Regions from separate parts of the Homo sapiens genome. Here region 1 is linked to region 2. Evidence: promoter capture Hi-C in human tissues and cell types (Jung and others, 2019). All regions are on one chromosome and are shown on one strand. The core of a region is centred on a gene start or on the middle of the fragment in contact, and the rest is flanking DNA. Distances in the headings are between cores, read along the strand shown.

What was found. Contacts are between HindIII fragments. The study calls those that stand out against the background at their distance.
Region 1: a fragment that was not itself captured here is called in contact with the fragment with the promoter of SALL1 in region 2 in 2 of the 25 tissues and cell types used here (dorsolateral prefrontal cortex and pancreas).

The regions. Positions count from the first base shown.
Region 1 is chr16:51,269,739-51,275,242 of GRCh38, forward strand. No RefSeq gene overlaps it. Among named protein-coding and RNA genes, the nearest start is that of SALL1, 120 kb to the left of the region's middle. The HindIII fragment of the contact is 4,943 bases long and covers 142-5,084 here.
Region 2 is chr16:51,149,603-51,154,439 of GRCh38, forward strand. It overlaps SALL1 (spalt like transcription factor 1), which reads right to left and starts at 1,668. Exons shown (of 3, transcript NM_002968.3): 1 at 1,564-1,668. The coding sequence starts at 1,639. RefSeq lists an enhancer at 865-1,365. The HindIII fragment of the contact is 9,229 bases long and covers 1-4,837 here.

The sequences.
Region 1 (5,504 bases), core at 1,363-3,862, 120 kb after region 2:
GAGAGATACCAAAGCTTTCTGAGCACAATACTGTCTACTACACTTTCTTCTCTTGGCAGCTGGGCAACATCTTATCACTGTAACCTTCCCAGTGGCCACCCTTGCACTTTGCACCTAATGAGTACTATGTTAGTTTGTTCTTGCATACTATAAAGGAACACCGGACGCTGGGCAATTTATAAAGAAAAGTGGTTTATTTGGGCTCACAGTTCTGCAGTCTGTACAGGAAGCATAGTGCTGGCATCTGCTTCTGGTGAGACCTCAGAAAGCTTCCAATCATGGTGAAAGGCAAAGGGAGAGCCAGAGTATCACAGGGTGAGAGGAGGAGCCAGACAGAGAGGGGGAGGTGCCACATTCTTTTAAACAACCAGATCTTGTGTGAACTCAGAGCCAGAACTCACTCATTATCTGAGGAAAGCACCCAAATTCATGAGGGATTTGTCCCTGTGACCCAAACACTTAGCATGAGACCCACCTCCAACACTGGAGATTACATTGAACGTGAGATCTGGAGGGGACAAAACACCCAAACCACATCAAACACTGAAGGATTACGTGCCCTCTTTCCTTTGTACCACTTATTGCAATTGTAATAAACACTCAGGCCACTGTATGTTTAATGTCTGTCTCACCCACTGGACTATAAATGGCCTCAGGGAAGGTTAATGTCTGTCTGCTGTTAAAGTAATTTAACTATATTTAAACAAAGTACTGCTTAATTGTTGTAACCCAGCACTTAGTATCTGATGCATACTAATACCAATGAATGATTGTTCACAAATATGTGAATGAATAGAGAAAGAACCCATGAAGGCATTGACACCTGCTTCATTCATTTGCTATTCCAGCTGTGGCATATGCCAGGTCCTGTTTCAGGTGCAGAGATGGAGAAGTGATTTGCACCCCATTGTCCCATCCTCCTGGAGCTGGTGGCTTGCTCAGGATCAAATCCAGCCTGCACCTCATGTAACCAAATGAAATTGTCAATAATGAGCTGCCTTTGGCCAATAAAAATGGCAATTTCATATGCTTCATCCCAATCCGAAACAGATGACAGCTCTGTTTGAAGCTGGGAGCCCACCTATTATTCAGTGTTTCCCTATCTTCACAGCATCCTCCTAGCCCCCAGTGCACATTCATGGAATTCTAGAATATAAAAATCTCTGGACAAAATATCCTTCAAGTCCTAAAATTCTACATCCCTGAATCAAGCTGTCATGCAGGACTCTCAGGCACTATAATATATGGACTAGAACATCTGAGGGCAAGTCCCCTTCCCGCAAAGCTGACCTTGGCACCTGATGCATCTGGGAGCCCCAAAAGGGGGTCCCAGGCCCCAGGGCCTGCACATGCTGCCGCACGCAGTGTCTTCTACGGGGCCTGTGCCGGTGGCATTGATCCCTCTGCTAACTAGATGAGAAATTGCAGCAGGCTTTCCTTGCATGGCTTTTCCATGCATCTTTGTCAATGATGGTTTACATTCTGGGATTGAACTAATTTGTTTCCGTTTGCTCCTGGCTGCAGGCTTCAGGCAGCTCAGCTTTGTTGTCCCGGGTTCGCAACTTGCCATTCTCCCTCCTCTTGCCTTTCCCCTCCCTAGCTAACCACATCTGAGGGCAAAAAGGATTAGCAAGCTCAGTGTGATGTGATTCTGGCACTTGTAGCCTGGATTCTTCTGCTACCTCAGAGAGCTGGGGTGGGGAGAGTGATGACTTAGTTGCCGCATGGAAGAAAGAGGTGGGGAGAATGAACCTTCAGTGCCCACTTGGGTGCTGCACAGCTGGGAACATCCCCACTCTGACAGCTAGCAAATACAAATGACCACAGCGATGATGCTGATTGCAGTTAATGTTTTCTGAGAATTAGGCACTAGCCCTATGCTAATTCCTTTTCATGCATTTCAGACAGTCCTTTCCATAATCTCTCTCAGTGAGAAGAACTGTTATTTTGTCCATTTTGTGGATGAAGAAACCAGAACCCAAGAGCGGAAATAATTCATCCAAGATCACTCGCTAGGATTCAAGCTTTAATACCTGGTGTGTCTGAATCAAGAATTCGCATCCTTACAACTGCTCCATATCCCCCTACTCCCCAAACCTTGATGCTTACAGGTATCTACTGAACAATAAACATCTTCCCTGAGCCTGAAAATGGTGGAGATGCGGTGTGGATTTCTGGAAATTGGAGCGGAGAGACACCTTTGGGGGGATAAAAGACGGCATTTGAGACACTTGCATTCCTCCAGCTGTCCCCCTTTGGCATGTTTTAATTTTAAAGTGGCAAATGAGGAGGATGCTTCCTCAGGGGTTCCCCAAAGGCCTGGATATTGGCCGACAAGAGGGCCAATTTTCTCACTGACATTCTTCTTCTTAATAGAATAAGTCACTTCAGCTGTAAAAATATTTATTTTTAACCCCACATGGGACTGTCTACAAACTATTTTCATGTTGAGTATAAAACAGTCAAACCTGTAACTATTTTCTTTGTTTCAGAATTGGCCTGCAAAACATCTGCTAATTATTTACCAAAGCTGAATCTATGCAAACTCTACAATCCAGCAATTCCACTCCTGGTGTTACCAGTGGAGGGTCTTGACTACAAGTCATCCAAATTCTTGGCGTTTTGAACAAAAAATTGGACAAAATGCACAAAGAAAGCAATGAAGGAATGAAGCAACGGAAGCACAGATATATGTAAACAAAAATTCACTCCACAGAGTAGGAGCTGGCTCGACCAAGTGGCTCAAGAGCGTTGGTTACAGAATTTTCTGGAGTTTAAAATACCCTCCAGAGTTTCCCATTGGTTACTTGGTTACACCCTGTGTAAATGAAGACTTGGCCTGCAACCAGTCTGATTGGTCACAAGAAGTGACCAATCAGAGGGTGAAGTCAAGTTACAAAGTTAAACATGAAGACTTGGCCCCATGACCAGCCTGAATGATTGCGGGAGGGGACCAATTATAGGTACTCTTCATTTTTCATCTGCAAGGCAGTGCAAAGGGAGTAGCCTCTTATCCTTTTGTTACTTGCGTGTAGAAAGGTGGGGTTTTCCTTTGGATTCAGTTCTAGGAAGTCAGCACAAATCAGCCTTAGGTTTCCTGTCTCCAGACCCTATTCTGCCTCACTGAGTAAATACCAAATAGAAATGAGCATGTGTTCATCTAAAGGAGACCTTCAGAGTGGTGCTTACAGCCCCAAATCAGAAACAATGCAAAGGCCCTGGGCTGGGAAGTGAATTATGGTAGAGTCACATGGTGGACTACTGCGCTGCAATGAGAAGGAGCAATCTTCAGACCAATCCAGGGACATGAAAGGATCTCACACCCATTATACTGACTGAGCAGAAAGGGTAGGACAAAGTAGGACATACATATATCCTGTATGATTTGATGCTTATGATGTTTAAAAACAGGCTAACTCTAACCGTAACCCTCTGCTCATTAATGCTTTTTGTTTGTTTGTTTATTTGAGACAGGGTTTTGCTCTGTCGCCCAGGCTGGAGTGCTATGGTGCAATCTTGGCTCACTACAACCTCTGTCTCCCAAGCTCAGGGGATCCTCCCACCTCAACCTCCTAAGTAGCTAGGACGACAGGTGTGCACCACCGTGTCCAGCTAATGTTTTTTATTTTTAGTAGCGATGGAGTTTGGTCATGTTGCCCAGGCTACCGAGGTGTTTTTAATTATCTTTCTCTTCCCTGCCTTGCCTCCCCATTCCTCTTCCTCACCTGTGCTTCCTAGAATGACCTCCCAGGTAATATCCCTGCACCAGCTCTTGTCTCAGAGTCTGCTTGCGGGGCCTCGGGAACTGAGACAATGCACAATTTTTGTCTTTGTTATGTCAGGGATCATCATTTGGCTCCATCTAGCACCTCCATGAGCCTGGGGACTTTGTCTTGTTCACTGATGTGTCCCAAGTGCCTAGAACAGTGCCAGGCAGATTATTGACACTCATTAAGTACTCCTTAGACATTGAAGAAAATATGCAGACATAGCCAGGAGGCCAAGATCTAGAAAGCATCAAGCTGCCCAGAAGCTGTTTCACTCAAGCAAAAGGGAGCAAGGTCATGTTGATGGAGGCCTGTGGTGTGTATATGAGTGTGTATGTGTATATGTATATATACATATGTATATATATATTCTGATCTCACAATAGCTCTTACAATAGTTATTGTCTTAACAACAAAGATAGGGTAACTGCTTAGTTCTTCGCTGTTGAAGCTTAGTAGAGGCAGAGCATGTCTGTCTTATTTCCGCTGTAGCCCCAGGGCTTAGCACCTAGTCAGGCCATAGTAGGGGCTCAACAGATATTTGCTGAGTAAATAAATGAGTGAGTTCAAACATCTTGCCCAAAGTCACGGCTGGGAAGTGTTGGAGCTTAGATTTGCACCCAGTTTAGTGTGAGTTCAAAGCCCAAGTTCTCTGGCTATTCCAGGTTGCTGCTCCAGTGTGGATACGCACAGAGTCTTTAACTGCTGTCCTTGTCCCCACTGGCTTTCTCATGAGCTTTTCAGATGAAAATGACTATTATTTAAAAATACAAAAGAAAAATCTTCATTGACTGGTTTTATGAAGAAAACTTTATAAAGTTATATATATATATAAAATATGTATAATATATATGTTATATAAGGTTTTATACAGAAAGCGTTATAAAGACAACTTCTTGGTGTAGGGTGGGCCCAGCCAGAATGTGGCCAAAGGGTGGACCCCATGACTCTCTTGCCCTTCATCTTTAAATTCCTGATGGGTATCAGTGAAACTCACCAAACCGTTTACCTGGATCAACAGACAAAGAAAATGGTGCTTAGCTAGGTGATCTGCAGTCCAGCTTTGCATTCTGGTTTAAATCCACAGACTTAAACAAATGGGACTTAAGAAGGATGGGCAGGCTGGGCACAGTGGCTCATATCTGTAATCCCAGCACTTTGGGAGGCTGAGGCAAGCGGATCGCCTGAGGTCAGGGGTTTGTGACCAGCCTGGCCAACATGGTGAAACCACGTCTCTACTAAAAATATAAAAAAATTAGCCGGGCATGGTGGCAGGTGCCTGTAACCCTAGCTACTTGGGAAGCTGAGACAGGAGAATTGCTTGAACCCAGGAGGCAGACATTGCAGTGAGCTGAGATCGCGCCACTGCACTCCAGCCTGGGTGGGTGACCGAGCTAAAAAAAAAAGAAAGAAGGATGGACAGAGGGCAGTGATGGGGATCTCACTGGCCAGAGACATCTCTCTAGTGCTCTATGCTGACTTGACTCTGTTCCAAACTCCCTCAATTGTTCAAAGAGTTGGGCAATAACAGATGTGAGTGGGCACTGGCCACCCATGGCTTGTCTTCTCCAGAGTCAGTAAATGCACCTGACACAATTGGCTGTTACCTACGAGTGTGGTGTCATATAGATAGGAAAGAGTGTCTTCCCTAGGGCTGTGAGCAGAGCCAGCTAGTGCTAGGGGACTAGGCTGAGTGTAGCAGGATGTTGGATGACATCTTCAAATTAGGTTATCGTG
Region 2 (4,837 bases), core at 418-2,917:
TTGAGGAAACACTGGGGGCCGGGAGGAGGGCTATTGTAAAGCATTTCTTAATTAATTTCAAGTCCTCCATTTTTTTACAGGGACCCCAAGTCAGGATTCCCCTTTCCCGACATCAGGGGTAAAGGGAGCGGGGGTCCCTTCGCTTCACTGTGCCCCAGCTCTACCGAGAGGCAGGCCTCTGGGAAACGAGCCGGGGACCTGGGGGCCCGGGCGGCCGCAGCTTAGTGGGCTGAGGTGCCGATCAGGGTCACGCTTCGGAGCTCTGTCGGGGCCCAGCTCCCTCCTTCACACCCCAAAATGCCGCCTAGGGCGTGGGCATCCCGAGTGGCATCCGGAGCCGCTGAGACCCCGCCGAGATTGCTCCTTGTGCGTCCTCCCACAGCCGAGAGGCCAGCATCGTGCCGGGACGACCCGGGGACCCGAGTCCGGGCGCCGCTACACCGCCTCGGGCGCTAGGCCTGGGAGCTTTGAGGCCGGTACCGTGAAACACCTTTAGGAGCAAGGAGGGATTCCAGGTGTCCTCCCTTTGTACCCCAACTCCCTGCCCGGATCTCTTCCACTCTCTGCCATAGCCCCCACACACAAACTTTGTTCTGGACTTGTTCAGCCCCTTCGGGACCCACAGTTGTCGCCTCCATCGGAGAAAACAAGTGCCCCTGTTTCAGGGGGGATTCCACTCTGGCTGGCCACCCGCAAACCTGGAAAACTATTCTATGACTTCTTCCCTGACCCCCCTGGAAGTAGGGAGCACCACGATCCGCAGAGGGCGCATACCGACCAGAAAGATTTTGGGGGGCAGAGGGTGCAAGTGTTGTGGGAAGAGATGCGGAGATAAATTTTGCGAGCCAGACCCCGACACTTTCCCCGTCCGTTTGCACCGTCTCCGGAACAACTGGCGGCCAGCAGCACTCTCCACCCCGGCCGCAACCCCAGCGGGTCAGGCGCTGGCGCCCCGACACCAGTCCCCATCTTCTTGCAGCTCTGAACCTCCAAAGACACCCGGTTCTGCCTCGCAGGCCGAGGGGGAGTGTGCGTGGGGGCAGGGGGGCGCAGCGAACTCCCCCACGCTCGGAGTTCAGCCCAGCGCCCGAAGTAAACTTCCTTACCGCTGGCAGCAAGGCCGGGCGGCGGAGGCCGGGCCGGGTGCCCTGGGGCCGGCGCCGGGAGCGCTAGGGGCCCCGTGCGGTCAGGCCGGGGCGACCTCCACCCGCACCCACGCCTCATGGGGCTCCCGGGTCTTGGCCGCGGCTGGGATCCCCGGAAAAGCAGGGACGGAGAAGCCAGGCCGGCATGCCCGCCCTCCTTCCCCCGGGAGGACCCAACAACTCCGGAAAGATCCTGCCGGGAGATGTGCTCGCTTTCCCCGGGGCAGCGGGGGAAAGCCCAGCAAAGGCACATTGAAAATTAAAAAGAAAAAAAAAATTACGCCGAGTGGAAGAAGCAATCGGGGCCGCGGCGGCGGTGAGGTAGGGGGCGCGGGGGCCAGCCGCGTGTGAGTGGGTCCGAGTGTGCGTGAGTGTGAGTGCGTGTGTGTGTGTCCACGGCGCGGGCCGGAGCACTCACCATCTCGCCGGGGGAGCGAGGCCACTTCGGGGTCGGATTGGAAATGTTGAGGCTTCGCTTGCTTCCTCCGCGACATGCTGGCTCAAACATCAGCTGGGGCAGAATAAAAAATTACTAAAAAAAAATCTTCTCAAAATTACGGAAATCGAGCGGCGGCGGCGGCGGCGGCTCCCCCCGCCCGCCGGCCCGCCCGCCCCCTCCCCGGCTCCCCGGCCCCGGGCGCAGCGCGCATGTGTCCTGCTATAATTATGATTATCAATAATGCATTGCGATTAATCATAGAGGGGCTCTTTGAAAGGCGATTGGCACCGGGCCAGCGCTATTCAAACCCGCTCGCCTTAATCAATTAGTTCGTGATTTGCTGCAGACCCCTGTCTCTCCGCGCGCTGGCCCAATAAGCCGGCCGCGGGGCTGGCTCTGCGCGCCGCGCCGCCCGACACTGGGTTAACCCTCTTTGCGACCGCCCGGGACTCCGCGGCCCGGCCGCCGGGGGCCGGCCTCCTCTCCACTGCGGGCCCGGCGCCCCGGCAGGCGCCCCCCGCTCTCTCCCTCTCCCCTCCCTCTTCCCTCCCTCCTTCGCCCCCCCCCACAATCCCGGGCTGGGCCGACCCAAATTAGCATGCCCTCCCCGGAATTGAGCCGCCCCGGGTGGGGGGTGGGGCCGGGCGGCGAGGGCTGGGGACCCGGGCTGCCGGCGCGCTGCGAACTTCCCAACTCGGGGGCGAGGCGCGCCGGCCCGCGGGGGGAGGGAGTCCCGCGGCGGGATCAGGGGGGAGGGCGTCCCGTTTCGTGAGTGTTTCTTCGTTTCTTTAAGAGCTACCAGAAAGCAGCCCACCCCCACCCCCATTAAAAAAAAAAATAAGCGAGTGGGGAAGAGCCAGCCCCACGCCGGTCCGCCTCCCGCCCACGGCTCGGCCTCCCTCCCGCCTGGCTCGGCGCTCCTCCGCCCCGAGTTCTCCATCCCCTGGATCCCGGGCTCGCGGGGGCGCGGAGAAGAGGATCCAGGAAAGGTTTGGGAACCTGATGGGTTTGTGGCTGGGGGGAGGGGCAGTTCTCCCGCCACCCCATCCCCTCCCCGCCAGGGGCACTGATCCTCCAGCTTCTTGCTTGCTCCCTCGCTCCCTTTCTCTACCTCGGACATTCCCAGGACAATTAGGGCTGAAGTTTTCGGGAGAAGCAGCCCCGAGCCCGTGGGATAAGGGGGCGGCCCGGCTCCGCCCAGGACCCCTCCCGGACCTCCCCCCCGGCTGCCCCGGTTGGCTGCAGGGCGCGTCACTCCGCGGGGAGGCGGCGGCAGCGGTGGCGCCGCAGAGCCCCGGGCGGGCGGAGAGCGGGGACCGGCCTGGGCTCCGAGTTCAGCTCCGGCCGGGGGGAGGGGAGGGGCTGCGGCTCACACTGAGCGCAGCAGCGAGCACCGGCCTAGGGAGACACAGCCCGGGCGGACCCGGCACTGGACTGGGCCAGTCCCTGGGACCCCTGGGCACCCCGCCCTGGGGAGGGGGCCGCGCCCCAGCCTTCCGGGACGAGGTGGCGGCGCAGAGCCGGAAAGCGGGGTGGGGGGAGGGCGGTGGGGAGGTGTTCTGTCCGAGGCTGCCTGGCGGCGCCGAAGCTCGCCTCCACTTTTTGGGCACTTGCCGAGCGCGGCGCCCGAACTTTTCGCTCTATCACCATCTCCCTCAAGCTGAGATGCAACCTCCCTACCCTCGCCCCAGAGCCCAGAGCCAGGAGCCCGATCCCTCTGCCGGGCTCAGGCGCCCGCGAACCTGAGACTCGGTACGCGGCTCAGCCTAGCTCTTTCCCCTCGCGCCTCGGGGTCTCCTCGCTCCAAGGTTCTCGAAGTCTTGCGCCCGAAGGACTAAACTAAACTAAACTTCGGCTGAGTAATGGGGGAGGAGGGGGGTGCAGATACACAATCCCTGCCCTATCTCACGATCAGGAAAGGAGAGGGCTCATAAGGACGCCCCAATTCGCGAGCGCCCTTGAGTCTGGCCGGTGCCACGGTCGGTTCGCGCGAAGTGGGCACCGGTCTCCCGAGCCGACTTCGTGTACTCCGGACCTGTACTGCGCTCCGGTAGAGGACCCTTCCCTTTCTCTTAGCTTCTTAAATCTTTTCTTTTAAGGTGTAAATGTGTGTGTGTGCCGATGAATGTTTCTGTTTTTCATCTGCTGACTTTATTTTTTTTTATTGGTATAACTTCTCCCTTCTCTCTCCCTGCTCGTCCGTTTTCCACCTTTTCTCTTACTTATCTTCTGCCCTCGCTCACTCCCTAACACACACATTCACACCCTCTCCGCCTCGCTCTCCCGTTCTCGCCAGGTCCTGATGGGTACAGTAGATTTTGATAAAAAGACAAACGAAGCTATCAGTGGGGCTGATGTTGAAGAATGAAGATAATAATGTTTCCATAGGTGGTGCTTCAAATGCCATTATTTCTCACTGAATATTTAAAGAGATCCCTCGGCAAAGATGGATCTGCGCACTCCTGGGGTGTGAGCGGCTCGCATCTCCCAGACCCCGGGGAACGTGTACGGGAGCACGTGTAAATCCCGCACCCGCCTCCATCTCACAAACAGGGGTCCTCGCACACCCACCAATCCACACTGTCCCAGGTACACGAACGCGTTTGTGTGCACTTGCACACTCCTTTCCCGGAATGTGCCCGTGTTTGGAGCCGCCCGCATCCTTCTCTAACAATCTTGGCTTCTTGAAAGTCCGGGCCTCCCGGGCACCGCATGCAGCCAGGAACCTAGCGGAGCTGGCGGTCCCGCAAAGCTTTTCTCCTGGTGCGCGCCGCGTGCGCAGCAGGAAGCTCCCGGGAATAACTTCACACGTGTTTGTTACTTGGTCTACGTGTGATTTAAGATTAAGTGTAGGAAAAAAAAAAATTCCCCCCCCCCAAAAAAACACCACAACAAACAACCAAACGAAATGAACATGCGAAAAGCAGCTACGCGATGCTTAATTAAAAATGGGCGAGCAGAGACGAATAAATTGGGGGATCCAAACTTTAATAACTTTTTTCGTTTTTTTGCGTCCTCGACGGCGTAGAGGCGGGCGTTTCGATCTGCGCTTGGCGTCCCCCGCTAATTTCTTGTTTGTTTTCTTTCCCTCGGTGGCCCCGGGAAAGGAGATGGGAGGTGGAGGAGGGGGGGATGGGAGGAGGGGGATGGTCGGAATGGCGGGGAGAGGAGAATTGGTCTTTATTGTTGATGGCAATACATCAATTACGGGCCATTGTCTCGGTCCCAAGTTCCGTGGTTCGCTGGTGCGGGC